Regions from separate parts of the Homo sapiens genome. Here region 1 is linked to region 2. Evidence: promoter capture Hi-C in 16 types of primary human blood cells and fetal thymus (Javierre and others, 2016). All regions are on one chromosome and are shown on one strand. The core of a region is centred on a gene start or on the middle of the fragment in contact, and the rest is flanking DNA. Distances in the headings are between cores, read along the strand shown. Region 1 overlaps FOXP4 (forkhead box P4). Region 2 holds the start of TREML4 (triggering receptor expressed on myeloid cells like 4).

Region 1 (6,242 bases), core at 1,568-4,067, 320 kb after region 2:
ATTAATCTTCATTTTATGGGTTGGGAAAACGAAGTCCAGAGAGAAGAGGCAACTTGTCCAAGGTTACACAGCTACATGGTAGCACAGCTGGAACTAAAATATGGGGCCCTCGACTCCCAGTATAACCAGTAGGGCTTGAGCGTGTGCTGTGGTGAAGGGAGAAAGGAAGGGATGGGAGGAGCTGCCATTCCTCCCTCCTTCCTCCATAAGCTTGGCCTAGGCCGCCTGCCTTCTAGTGTGAATACTTTCTCTTTTCCCTTTAAGTGGAGAGGGGGACTGTAGGTGCAGAATCTGGTGTTTCCACCTGCACACAACCCTGGAGCATTCCCCAGGCACTCCTAAGGTTCTTGTGAGACACACATAAATGGGAGAGAGAATTCCCCAGAATGCAGAGGAGGAAAAATGACTGATAACCCCTCTCTCCAGAAAGGGAGATTTCTAGGGTTTGGAAACCCTAGCCTACACGTCCTTATGGAAGATTTTGGCAGCAAGTCTCAGACCAGTTTGGGACCTATCACTGAATGGATCATCTCAAAGAAGCAAAAGGAAACTCCCCTTGAGCCTGAAGTTATTGGCTCCCTTCAGCGTTGCCTCCCAGGATTCTCTGTGGAAATACACACCTTCAGTCCACTGCCAGTTCCACCAAGCCGGGATCACAGCGGGAACCCTCTTTCCTCTGAATTCTGCCACTTTGGATGCTGTGGTCTTGTGAGATGTTGCTCCTGGGCCCTTGCAGAGCCTGGACGCAGGGCACACCTGCCTGATCTAGAAAACAAGAGCTCCTGGCACAAAAGGTACACATCTGGACAGGGCCGCAGGTGTTGGACCGTGGAGTCACTGTTGCTGTGGTGTGTCGCCCGGGCTGGACATGCCTGGGCCTGGCGAATGCCCTCCTTGCCTTGATCCTGGTCCCAGGATCCCTCTTGAGATCAGGGTCTTTTCCCGGCTGTCCCTCTGGCACAGCCCTGCACCTTCCTTCTCTCCTGTCTGGATGGTAGCCATACAGCCGCCTGTTCCCTGAATCCCAGCTGCTCTGCCCACCTCCCTGGGCCCCATGCTCTGGCCAACTGGAGCCTCCACAGCCAGGCCTGATGGTGGGTGGAGCCAGTTGATAGTGCAAGATAGAGGTAAATGGTGTTTCCTTTCCTGCTGCAGTTCTGATGGTCTGTGACCCAGGCTACCATGTAAATGGAAAATGGGGCGACATAGTGGGTTTTCCTCAGACTAACAGTATGTAGAATAGAGACCATCCGGCATTTGTTCAAGGTAGGCAGGACTGGTGGGAGCAGAAGTTACTCAAGTAGCAGCAAAGGGGTGGCAAAATGATGGCGACTTGAAGGTAGGGTGGCTTAGGGAATGGAGCCAGGGACTCAGTAGTTGTATCCATCCTACGAACACACTGTGGAGCGCCTACTGTGTGCTGGAGGCCAGGCTGGTGAAGGGCAGCAGGAGGGACCCGGAGAAGGGGTGGCTCACATGCAACTTGGAAAATCAGAAATAGAACAAGGGCCGGAGCACAGATCTGTGGGCACTGGCCACCTGAGCCAGCGTGGGTCCTGAAACCCCCAGCTGAGACAGGACATGTGTGCCACCCAGAGAGCCCTTAGGAGGGCCTCCCCGTGTGAAATGAAACCAGGGGGTGGGAGGTTGGGGTAGCTTCCGTTCTCATCTCCTCAGCGGGGCTTCCTTGGATTCCATTCCCGGCTGGCTTTACGTTTCTAGGAGAACATTTCTATGGAGACCCAGGCCTAAAGAAGTTGCTTCAAAAGAGGGTGGCGGTGTACTTCCTCCTTTCCTTTGGGGTTCCCCTGCAGATGCACATCCGCATCCTGGAAGGAAGGGGTACACTAGGGAGAGTTTTGGGGAGATATGAAACATCAGGATTTGTGGGAGACCCAGCGAGAGGCTGCGGCTGTAAGCACTCAGGGAGCAAAGCGCCAGGCTTTTTGAGGCTGCGTCTCTGGATGGGAGCTGGAGAAGCTGGATGGTCAGGCCATGCTGAGGGTGTAGAGTTGGTCCACTGAGAGAATCCCTCCTTCAGGAAGCCTCTGAGCTTTCTTTCCCAGAGAGCCAGAGCTACCTGTTTCCCCTCCCCAGCTGAGCGCTCGCTTTGGATTGTTCCCTCAGTGAGTTTTTACCTTTTTAACTGAGCGCATCAGTTCCAGTTGCTGGAAGCTCCTGCATGTCTGAGACCTGAGCACAGGGATATAACACAAGGGGTTTTCGGCACTCACCAGACGCAGAGAAAAGAACTGCAGCTGGGCTAGCTCGGGCCGGCAGCTGGGGATCCGGAAACACTGGAAGAGGGGACGGCTCAGGCAGCATGGCAGTGTTTAGCCACAGAGAAAGCTGCCCACCGATTGTGCTCAGAGATGATTTTGTGGGTCTAGGCCTAAACAGTCTGTACCCACACGGGTACATGATGAGGGTCCCCGGTAAGCCCACTGCTGCCAACTTCCTAACTCACTCTTCGGCCTTAGGCATGACCCGTCTTCTCTCTGGGCCTCAGTTTTCCTAACTGTACAGTGGGTGAAGAGGACACCTGCAGCCCCACATCCTCGGGCTCACCATCCTGAAGCTGTGGGTTGGGAGCCAGGCAAGAAGAGACCTGAAGGTCTCAACGTACACCCTCTTTGTTCCAAGGGCATCGGGAGCCTACTTCCATGGGTCCTTCTTGAAAGGGGTGCTGTGGAGCTCGGGGCAGAGGACACTATGACCCATGCAAGTCTCCTCCTTCCCAATTAGGCAGTGGAGCCTGATTAAAAGGGGTGCTGCCTGCCCCCTCCCACCCGATCCCCATCGACGAGATTTCCCTTCATCAGAATCTCACATTCTCCAGAAATTAATTTGATGCCTCATGTTATCAATTAATTGAATCTCGTTGGGAGAGAGAGCTCCGCGAGGTGAGGCGAGCTTCAGCTTGGCCCTTGTGTGCCGCCATCCCCCCTCCCCCTCACACCAGGGCAGCCTTCTCCTCCCCCATTCCTTTTTTTCTGCCTTTCTTTTAATTGCACTTATTTTCTAAAATAAAACCACTGCTCTGTGCCCCTTTGCCCAGTTTGGCTTGGATGGATACCCATGGACTGGGTACTGGCTGGGATTTGCCCTTTCAGAGGTGGGGGCAGGAGGACTTCCCCTCCCCTGGACCCTGTCTGATCTCTCCTTAAGTAAACAGAATCTCACCCTTTGGGAATTTGGCCGTGATCCTGTGTGCTCCAGGGGCTTCTGGTGAGAAACTTAGGAGGACTAGGGGAGGGAGGAAGAGCTGGGAACAGACTGCACCCTAGTTGGGGACAGAGGAGGTAGAGAAGGACCAAGCTAGGGACCTTTTAACCCTCAGGATTTTGTCATTCAGAAGCTGCTGCCCCTGCCAGAACTGATCCATTAAAACACAGGGCAGAGGGCATAGGTGTGTGGTACCTCCAAGCCTCCCAACAGTCAGGTCAGATATCTGCAGGAACAAGCCCTCAGCATTTTCAAGGACACTTGGAAGCCCTTGCTCTGCCCCCTGCATGGAAGATGGGGGAAGGAAGTTCTAATAGGACATCCCTATTAGGAAACCTGGGAGGTTGTTGTGGCAGGTAGAGCTAGGTAGTCACCAGGCCCTGACTGAGGAACTGTGCTTTGCCGTTTCACATACCTCCTTGTTCTTATCCCCACAACAACCCTGAAAGATTCTCCAGGCAGTGGTAATTATCACTCTCATTTGATAGGTGAAGTACCCAGGCCCAGAGAGGTTACCTGACTTGCCCCGAGTCACAGTTAACTGGAACTTGCCTTTCTGAAATGCTGGCCATAAGGGCTGAGGTCACAAGTGGACTAACTTCATCCCTGCTGAGTTTTGTTGACCCACACACAGTTCATTACAATGGTAAATTTCACATAAATATCCCCACTTCTGCTCCTTTTGAAAAACCCAAGCCCTGTCAACACTGAGCCTGCATTTCTGTGTGGAAAGGATGGACTGGGATTGAGTGGCAGCTGCCTCCTCGTGCCCTCCTCACCTGGCCTCCTAAGTGACCAGCCTAGCCCCTGAAGGCATTTTGGTTAGCAGCTTTGACATGGAGATTCACCTGTCCCCAGTATTCCTCAAGGAGAATCTAGTGTGGGACAGTGTCTGAAGGACTCTGCAGGGTCTAGCCAGGCACAGTGGCTCATGCCTGTAGTCCCAGCACTTTGGGAGGCCAAGGCAGGTGAATCACCTGAGGTCAGTGGTTCAAGACCATCCTGGCCAACATGGCGAAACCCCATCTCTACTAAAAATACAAAAGTTAGCCGGGCGTGGTGGCAGGCACCTGTAGTCCCAGCTACTCAGGAGGCTGAGGCAGGAGAATTGCTTGAACCCGGGAGGCGGAGGTTGCAGTGAGCCGAGATTGTGCCACTGCACTCTAGCCTGGGCGACAGAATGAGACTCTGCCTCCAAAAAAAAAAAAGACTGCAGGGTCTGTACAAGAAGATCTCAGAGAGAGGACCTATAAGGACACCCTGACCCAAATCTAATTCCCACACAGCTACTTAATAACTGATGGTGGGATGGGCGCAGTGGCTCATGCCTGTAATCCCAGCACTTGGGAGGCCAAAGTGGGAGGATCAGTTGAGCTCAGTTTGAGACCAGCCTGGGCAATATGGTGAAACCCCCTCTCTACAAAAAATACAAAAATTAGGGTGTGGTGGCATGTGACTGTAGTCCCAGCTACTCGGGAGGCTGAGACCAGAGGATCACTTAAGCCAAGGAGGAAAGGTTGCAGTGAGTGAGCCGAGATCGCGCTACTGCACTCCAGTCTGAGCGACACAGAGTGAGACCCTGTCTCAAAAAAAAAAAGAACTGATGGTTGTGGGTGATTCTTTTTGCCTTCTTTCTACCACAGAGGTTAGGTCTTTGTACCATAAGGCCTTGTGTCTCCGGGGGCCTGTTTCAAGATGAAATCAGCGCATCCCTGCCAGGGTGAGCCCCTCTATGATAAAGTCATCACTTGCCCCCTACATCTGAGGAAATGAAGGGAGGGGCCAAGGCATGTCGGGGCAGGCTGGGCAGAACAGCCAGGGGCCCAGAAATGGCCATACTCAGTGGTTTGTCCCAGGCCCTCTAGAGCCCCTCCTGTGCCCAAAGGAAACCCTGGTGCCAAAGGCACCACCAGAACCAGGCTCCAGATGGCCATTCAGGCCCTGGGCGAATTGCCCCTACCCCTTAACCAGCAGGCCCCCCACATAAGACGTCACTATTTAATTAGCCGTCTCTGATTAACCAAACTTGGCATTCGGCTCCTCTTGCCCTCATCTTTCCCAGCTCCGAATCAATGGCTTTGATATGCTAATTAGGGAGTAATTTAATTTCAAAAGGCCGCAATTAACAAGGGTGTTGTGGACATGCTGTAGTTAAGCGGAGTAATCTAATTTGCATTAGTAACAAGCAGGGACTAATTAGAAGCTTAATTAGACACTTAGATGGCTCTTATGTTTACTTTCTTAATGAGATGGAGTGGGATCTTTGGTTCTCTTTCTTTTTTTCCCCCTGTATTGTTAATTCTTTTTTTTGGTCTGTGTAGTAGGAAGGGGTATTGAGGGAGGCCACCTTGCCAGGGCCTGTGGGAGCGTTTCAGGGATGGAGCCAGTAAAAGGTAAGGTGGAGGGTGGTGGTAGGGGTAAGGGAAGGCTTGGATTCCAGAGTGACTCGGGGAGTTAGGACGCGGGGAGGAGCACTGGTTTAGGAGTCAGGAGAGCCACCTGGTTTCAGTTTGGCTCAGTCACTTAGCAGTCAGGTAACCTTGTCAAGTCTTTGGCATCTTTGAAGTGTGGTTCCATCCTCTGTCAAAATGAGCGCAAAATTGCATGGGGGAGAGAGGAGGGAGGGGCTATAGGAAAGCACTCTTGGGGACTCTGTGAATGTTTTTTTTTTTTTTTTGAAATGGAGTCTCGCTCTGTTGCCCAGGCTGGAGTGCAGTGGCGTCATCTTGGCTCACTGCAAGCTCCACCTCCCAGGTTCACACCATTCTCCTGCCTCAGTCTCCTGAGTAGCTGGGACTTACAGGCGCCCGCCAACACGCCCAGCTAATTTTTTGTATTTTTAGTAGAGATAGGGTTTCACCATGTTAGCCAGGATGGTCTCGATCTCCTGACCTTGTGATCTGCCCGCCTTGGCCTCCCAGAGTGCTGGGATTACAGGTGTGAGCCACCGCGCCCGGCAAGCGAATGGTTTTTAACAATAAAATATATTCACAAATTGTGTGCCGAGGCCTTGCTGC
Region 2 (5,836 bases), core at 3,326-5,825:
AGTTCAGTGATTAGTGTGGAGGAAAAAGGGCTCCATGTAAAATAAAGCTTCTTCCCCAAAGCCTCGGAATTTTAACCCTCAGAGGGCAGAGGGCCCACGTTGGCTTTCCTTTCTTTACTTGGTCTTCTCTGCCCTCCAGCTGCAGTTTGGGAAGCCTCCAGGCCTGGAGCATGGAGAGGAGAAGAGGAAGGGTCAGGAAAGTCTGGTGATGACCCAAAGAGTTCAAGCTGAGGTTTCTCAGAGGGCACCGTTGTGGGCTCTTCCGATGACACCCTGCCTGTCACCTGCAGCTTCCTCATGTAGCCTTGGATCTCCTTCCTGGTGGGTGCTCCTGACATCTCCTTCAGCCTCCAAGCCTTTCGCAGTCCACTTCCAGCTTCCTGCCATGCGTCCCTCCACCTCCAGCAGGCCTTTTGGGTGGGATCTACAACCACCCATGCTGGGTGCCTCACATCTGTGCAGCCCAACATCTGGCCCACGGAAGCCATCCACTTCCTTCACCCCAACAAAGTCATGGAGCCTGGGGGCCCCCACAAGGTCACCTCTCCTCCATTCCACCATCAGGACAGCTTGCCGCCTGCTGTCTCTACCCAATACAGCTCTCAGACTGAATCCAACTCAGCTGCTACATCTCCCAGACTGCAGGGGCCACAACCATCTTTCCAAGTTGTGACCCTATCTCAAGCCTCTCCCTAGGTTTGAGATAAGATGCAGGAATCTAACCCTCTCCTCCCCCAGGGTCACAGCACAACTACCAGCTGTCTCCAAAAGTCCTCTCCCAATCTTCACACTCCTCACAACTTTCTACCCTTGATGTGTGTGAGGGATTCATTCCTCAAAGAAGGTTTCAATACCTTTTGGCATGTGCTTCACACTGGCCTCCCACCTCACTCTGACAGATAGCATATATTTTCTTGGGACTTGCATTAGTCAAGATTTAGCTGCAAACTACAAAATCCAAGCTACGGATTTTAAGGAGAAAGAGATTTTTAAAATCAAACATTAAATGCTTTACAGAATCAGATCCTATGTAATTTCTGGGCATCACTCTTAAAGCCACAGGATGGGCTACTAAGGGACCACTGCCTTTGCCACAGTCAACACCCTTTCCAAATCAGGCAACTTTCCAAATCTGGAAGCTGCCATCACAGCCCTGGCTAAAGAACCCCTCCATCTCACCCATAGTCTACCGGCACAATGGATGCCTCTCTTCCCATTCTAGCTCACTTCCTCATTTAAGTCTCATACAAATACATTGAATGGGTGGGACCTAAAATATATCTGGAACCCTAGCTGCAAAGGAATCAGAAATGATCTTGTAGACCTTTTACTATAGAAAGACCCATGAAAAAGAGGTGGCAGCCACTCATAGTGGCTCACACCTGTAATTCTAGCACTCTGGGAGGCTAAGCTGGGTGGATCTCTTGAGTCCAGGAGTTCAAGACAAGCCTGGCCAACATGGTGAAACGTTGTCTCTATGAAAAGCAATAATAATAATAATAACAAGGTGCATTGGTGTGTGCCCACACTCCCAGCTACTCAGGAGGCTGAGGTGGGAGGATCACTTGAGCCCTGGGAGGTCAAGGCTGCAATGAGCCATGATCACACCACTGCACTGCAACCTGGGCGAAAGTGTAAAACTCCATCTCAAGAAAAGAAAAAGAGAGACAGAAGAAGAAAAAAGAAAGAAAGAAAGAAAGAAAAGAAAAGAAAAAAGAAGGAAGGAAGGAAGGAGAAAGAAAAAGAGAGAGAAGGAAAGAAGGAAGGAAGGAAGGAAGGAAGGGAAGAAAGAAAGAGGTGGCAATGAATATATAGTGAGTTCACAGTGTCTACCTGAATACTCTCAGCCAAAACTGAGATCACAATAGTTAAAATTTATAAGTTTTGTTGTTTCTTTTGCTGTCAATGAAAGTCAAATATGACTAAGTGAAAAATAAACATATAGTATTTGCTTTGTTATGTCAAATAAACGCTATTTGTAAAAATATAGTATTTGCCTTGTTACACCAAATAAACCCTATTCTGTAGTATAAACGTTATAGTAACAAATTTTCATTTACAGCAATCAGTACATCGGACACTATGTGTGACATATCACACTGAAGGCATCAAATGATACAGATGCAGAGAATAAATTCCTATTTTCCTCTTCCAGAATTTATCATACTTTTCTTAGAAACTTCAGTGTGTTTAAGAAAATGACTCTTATTACCATCAAGTGTTAGTAGGTGCTTTACACCTAGCCGTACTAAGATTTCTTAAAACTTTGCTGTTTGTTATGTACACGCTGTTTGTTATGTATCAAGTGATTATTCATATGCTTTGTGTAAATCGTTTCTATACATATTAAAACTAATCTTTTACACTTAGAATGCTTTCAGATTCACAGAAGAGTTGTGTAGGTATTGCATACTTCCCTGATGTGCTATGTTCAATGTCTTCTATTATTAATATAGTCCAATAGTATGCTACATTTCTCACAATTAATGAGTTGATATTGATACATTACTATAATTTTACAAAATTGATGAGTAGAACTCATATATTTATAATGCGTGGTAGGATAGTTTGATGTGTGTATTAACTGTGAAATTACTAAATCAAGCAATACCACATATACTTACTTGTTTTGTGGTGAGAACATTTAAAATCTATTTTCTGTCATTTTCAATTGTACAATTCATAGTTATGAACTGCACTCACCATACTGTGCAATAGATCTCTTGAACTTATTTTTTCTGTCTAACATATTGTGTTTCTTCAACAATACCTACCCAGTTTGTCCAATTCCCAGCCTCTGGTAATGCCATTCTACTCTGTTTCTGTGGTAGATTTTATTAATTGAAGTCCTTACTTCATTCAGATTACCCTGGCTTTTACCTCATGTACTTTCTGTGCTCCAGGATCCCACCTAGGAAGCCACATTGCTTTTAGTCTTCATGTCTGCTTAGGCTCCTCTTATTCATAGCAGTTTCTGAGAATTATTTCTTAGTTTTGATGGCCTTGACAGTTTTGAGGAACGCTGCTCAGGTATTTTGTAGAATGTCCCTCATGTGGAATTTGTTTGATGTTTTTCTCCTGGGGCCAGCGGCTTTGGGGAAGGAGACTGCACAGCTAATTGCCCTGTCATCACATCAAGTCAATGACACATTCTAACAACCTGAGTTATCCCTGTGGGTCTGCACTTTGGTTGCCTGGCTGCCACAGTAAGTGTCAGGTTTCTCCACTGTACAGTTACTCTTCTCTTCCTTCCCATGCTATCCTCTGGAGGAAAGTCACCTGCACAGCCCATGCTTAAGCCGTGGGAATTTATGCTTCTGCCTTGAGGGCAGAATACCTATAAGAATTGTTTGCAATCTCTCTCAGTCCCTTCAGGCTGCTATGAGAAGATGCCTTAGACTGGAGACTTTCTAAATAATAGAAATCTCTTTCTCAAAGTTCTGGAGTCTGGGAAGTCAAAGATCAAGGTGTCAGTGGATGTGGTATCTGCTGAGGGCTGCTCTCTGCTTCCAAGGTGGTGCTTTCTTGCAGTAACCTCAGTTGACTGAAGGCATGAACACTGTCCTCATATGGCAGACAGCGCAAATCTGCTTCCTGCAATCTCTGGTATAAGGGCATTAATTGCATTCTTGAGGATGACGCCCTCATGACTTAAGATTTTCCCACAAGATCCCACCTCTTAACGCTATCACATGGAAATTAAGTTTGAATATATGAGATGGGGGAACAACATTCTGAACACAGCAGAATCCTTATGCATGGGATATTTGTCTATTCCCCCCCCCAGTTCTTTATTCAGTCATTTACTTACATCAGCATGGACTCCTAGAGATTTAATATATACATTGGGTAGTAATCCAGTACCACTTGGTTTTGTTGCTAGATAGTTCTCACTTCGGCCATTTTCTTTTTCTGTACATTTTACACACGCGTTGTTCTTTCATCCACTGATGTATTCATCCAACAAGCACTGATTGAGATGATCCCAAGCTACCATAACTGATCCACTCCTACCTGCCTTCCCCTCCAACTTTCCCTGACCAGCACTCTCTTTCCTCCCTGCTTTCCTGGCCCCACCATTTCCAGGGAACATCTTGTAATTCCTGGGATTAAAATCTGCCCTCTACAAAATGTCTCAGGGTCAAAACTCATCATCAACCCACCATGGCTAGACCAGAAGGATTCAGGGGTCTGGTCGTGCCTCCAAGGGCCCTGACCACCTATAGGAAGTGCACAGAGAGAAGGAAAGAGGGATGACCCCAGCTTTATTCACCAGCTTTATTCTTGGCCATGCTGAGAGCTGCCCCTAGCAATAGAGGAGCAGTATGACTGGCTGGAAGGCATAAAGCAGCAGACATGGGGAGAAGTTCAGTGAAAGGCGGCAGAGCAACACAGCAGGGCTGAGGTGCCCAGGCCCAGAGACAGACCCTGTAGCTGGTGGCCCCTTTCAAGGCCTGGCTGCCCCTCCTCCCCTGGTCTGCAGAGCCCGCCCTCCCAGGCCGACCATTTCCCCAGCAAGACATTGACTTCCTCAATTTTACCAGCTGAGAGACACTGGGAACCTGGGGCAGAATCAGACCCAGCGTCTGACTCCTCCTGAGAGGGCTCCCTTTTTTCTCCTCTCCTCCGCTGTCAGAAACAGATCTGGGCTGGAATGGCCTGGGGTGGGGTCCACACCTGCTGCTTCCACCTGTGCTGCTGCTGCTCCTGGCCTCAGGTGACATGGAGGGAAAGAGTGCAGGGGGTGTAAGGAGTGGGATGAAGAATGAGTGGGGCAGGGAGCAGCATGGCTGTGTGACCATAGGACAGAATTTAGGGGCCCTCTTCCATGTGTGGGCATCAGAACTAGTTCCCCCTCCCCTTCCCCAGCCTGTGATGGGGGAGGTTGGGTCCCTTCAGAGCTCTGACCTGGGTTTCTTTCTGCCGGTTCCTGGGTAAAGGGTGCTGTGCCTGAAGAACTTCACAAACACCCAGGACAGACCCTCCTCCTGCAATGCCAGTACTCACCCAAGAGAGGGCCCTATCAGCCCAAATCCTGGTGTCAGCAGACATCTCCAAGTCGGTGTACCTTACTTGTCACCAGCTCCAAGCCCTGGACAGCAGTTCAGAAGTCTCATTACACAATCTGGGACAAGCCCAATGCTGGCTTCTTCAACATCACCATGATTCAGCTGACACAGAATGACTCGGGATTCTACTGGTGTGGAATCTACAACGCTTCCGAAAACATCATCACTGTTCTTAGAAATATCAGCCTGGTGGTGTCTCCAGGTGAGCTCTTTTCTTGAGGAAATACCTCTGTGCCACCCCCCAGGGACCTGAAGGAAATGTCATGCACCCCCTCCCATGCCTCTATCATCCCCCATCCTGCCAGGTATTCTGCTGTGGTCCAAGGGGAGCAAAGATCCTGTCCCCAAACATGGACTCTCACCTCTCCTCCACCCGGTACATCCTGGCCTCAATTGTTGGGAAGGTACCCTCAGAGGTCCCTGGACAGAGACACAGTCTGTCTGTCACTCTGCGTCTCTCTTTGTCTTACACAGGCACACCCACAACTCTTCTTTTCACACACACACTAACACACACACACCAACAACTCTGTCATGCAGATCTTAGGCACAGACCACTCCTGGCTTAAGACATCCTGAGGGTCTGGCTCTGGGCCCCTACCTCCTCTTATGTATGGGGTAGACCCTACTCTCTTCTGGGCCCCTGGAGAGTCATTGTCTGCTGTCTTTTCTCTTTAGCCCCAACCACGTCTCCTATGTGGACTCTTCCCTGGCTCCCAACAAGCACAGGTAGGTTGGAGGCCTCGGTGGGGGAAGATTAGAAGGGT

Evidence for each region. The method cuts DNA at HindIII sites, captures the fragments that hold promoters and counts their contacts. A CHiCAGO score of 5 or more calls a contact.
Region 1: a contact is called between a fragment that was not itself captured here and the fragment with the promoter of TREML4 in region 2, in 6 of 17 cell types (activated CD4 T cells, M1 macrophages, non-activated CD4 T cells and 3 more). The highest score is 7.1, in activated CD4 T cells.

Annotation. Positions count from the first base shown.
Region 1 is chr6:41,550,440-41,556,681 of GRCh38, forward strand. All of the region lies in intron 1 of FOXP4 (forkhead box P4), which reads left to right. Among named protein-coding and RNA genes, the nearest start is that of FOXP4-AS1, 4.9 kb to the left of the region's middle. RefSeq lists enhancers at 4,692-5,692, 5,047-5,500. The HindIII fragment of the contact is 5,218 bases long and covers 209-5,426 here.
Region 2 is chr6:41,223,774-41,229,609 of GRCh38, forward strand. It overlaps TREML4 (triggering receptor expressed on myeloid cells like 4), which reads left to right and starts at 4,576. Exons shown (of 6, transcript NM_198153.3): 1 at 4,576-4,717; 2 at 4,941-5,271; 3 at 5,748-5,798. The coding sequence starts at 4,655. It overlaps LOC105375055 (a long non-coding RNA gene), which reads left to right. Exons shown (of 3, transcript XR_926794.3): 3 at 140-2,055. The HindIII fragment of the contact is 15,987 bases long and covers 46-5,836 here.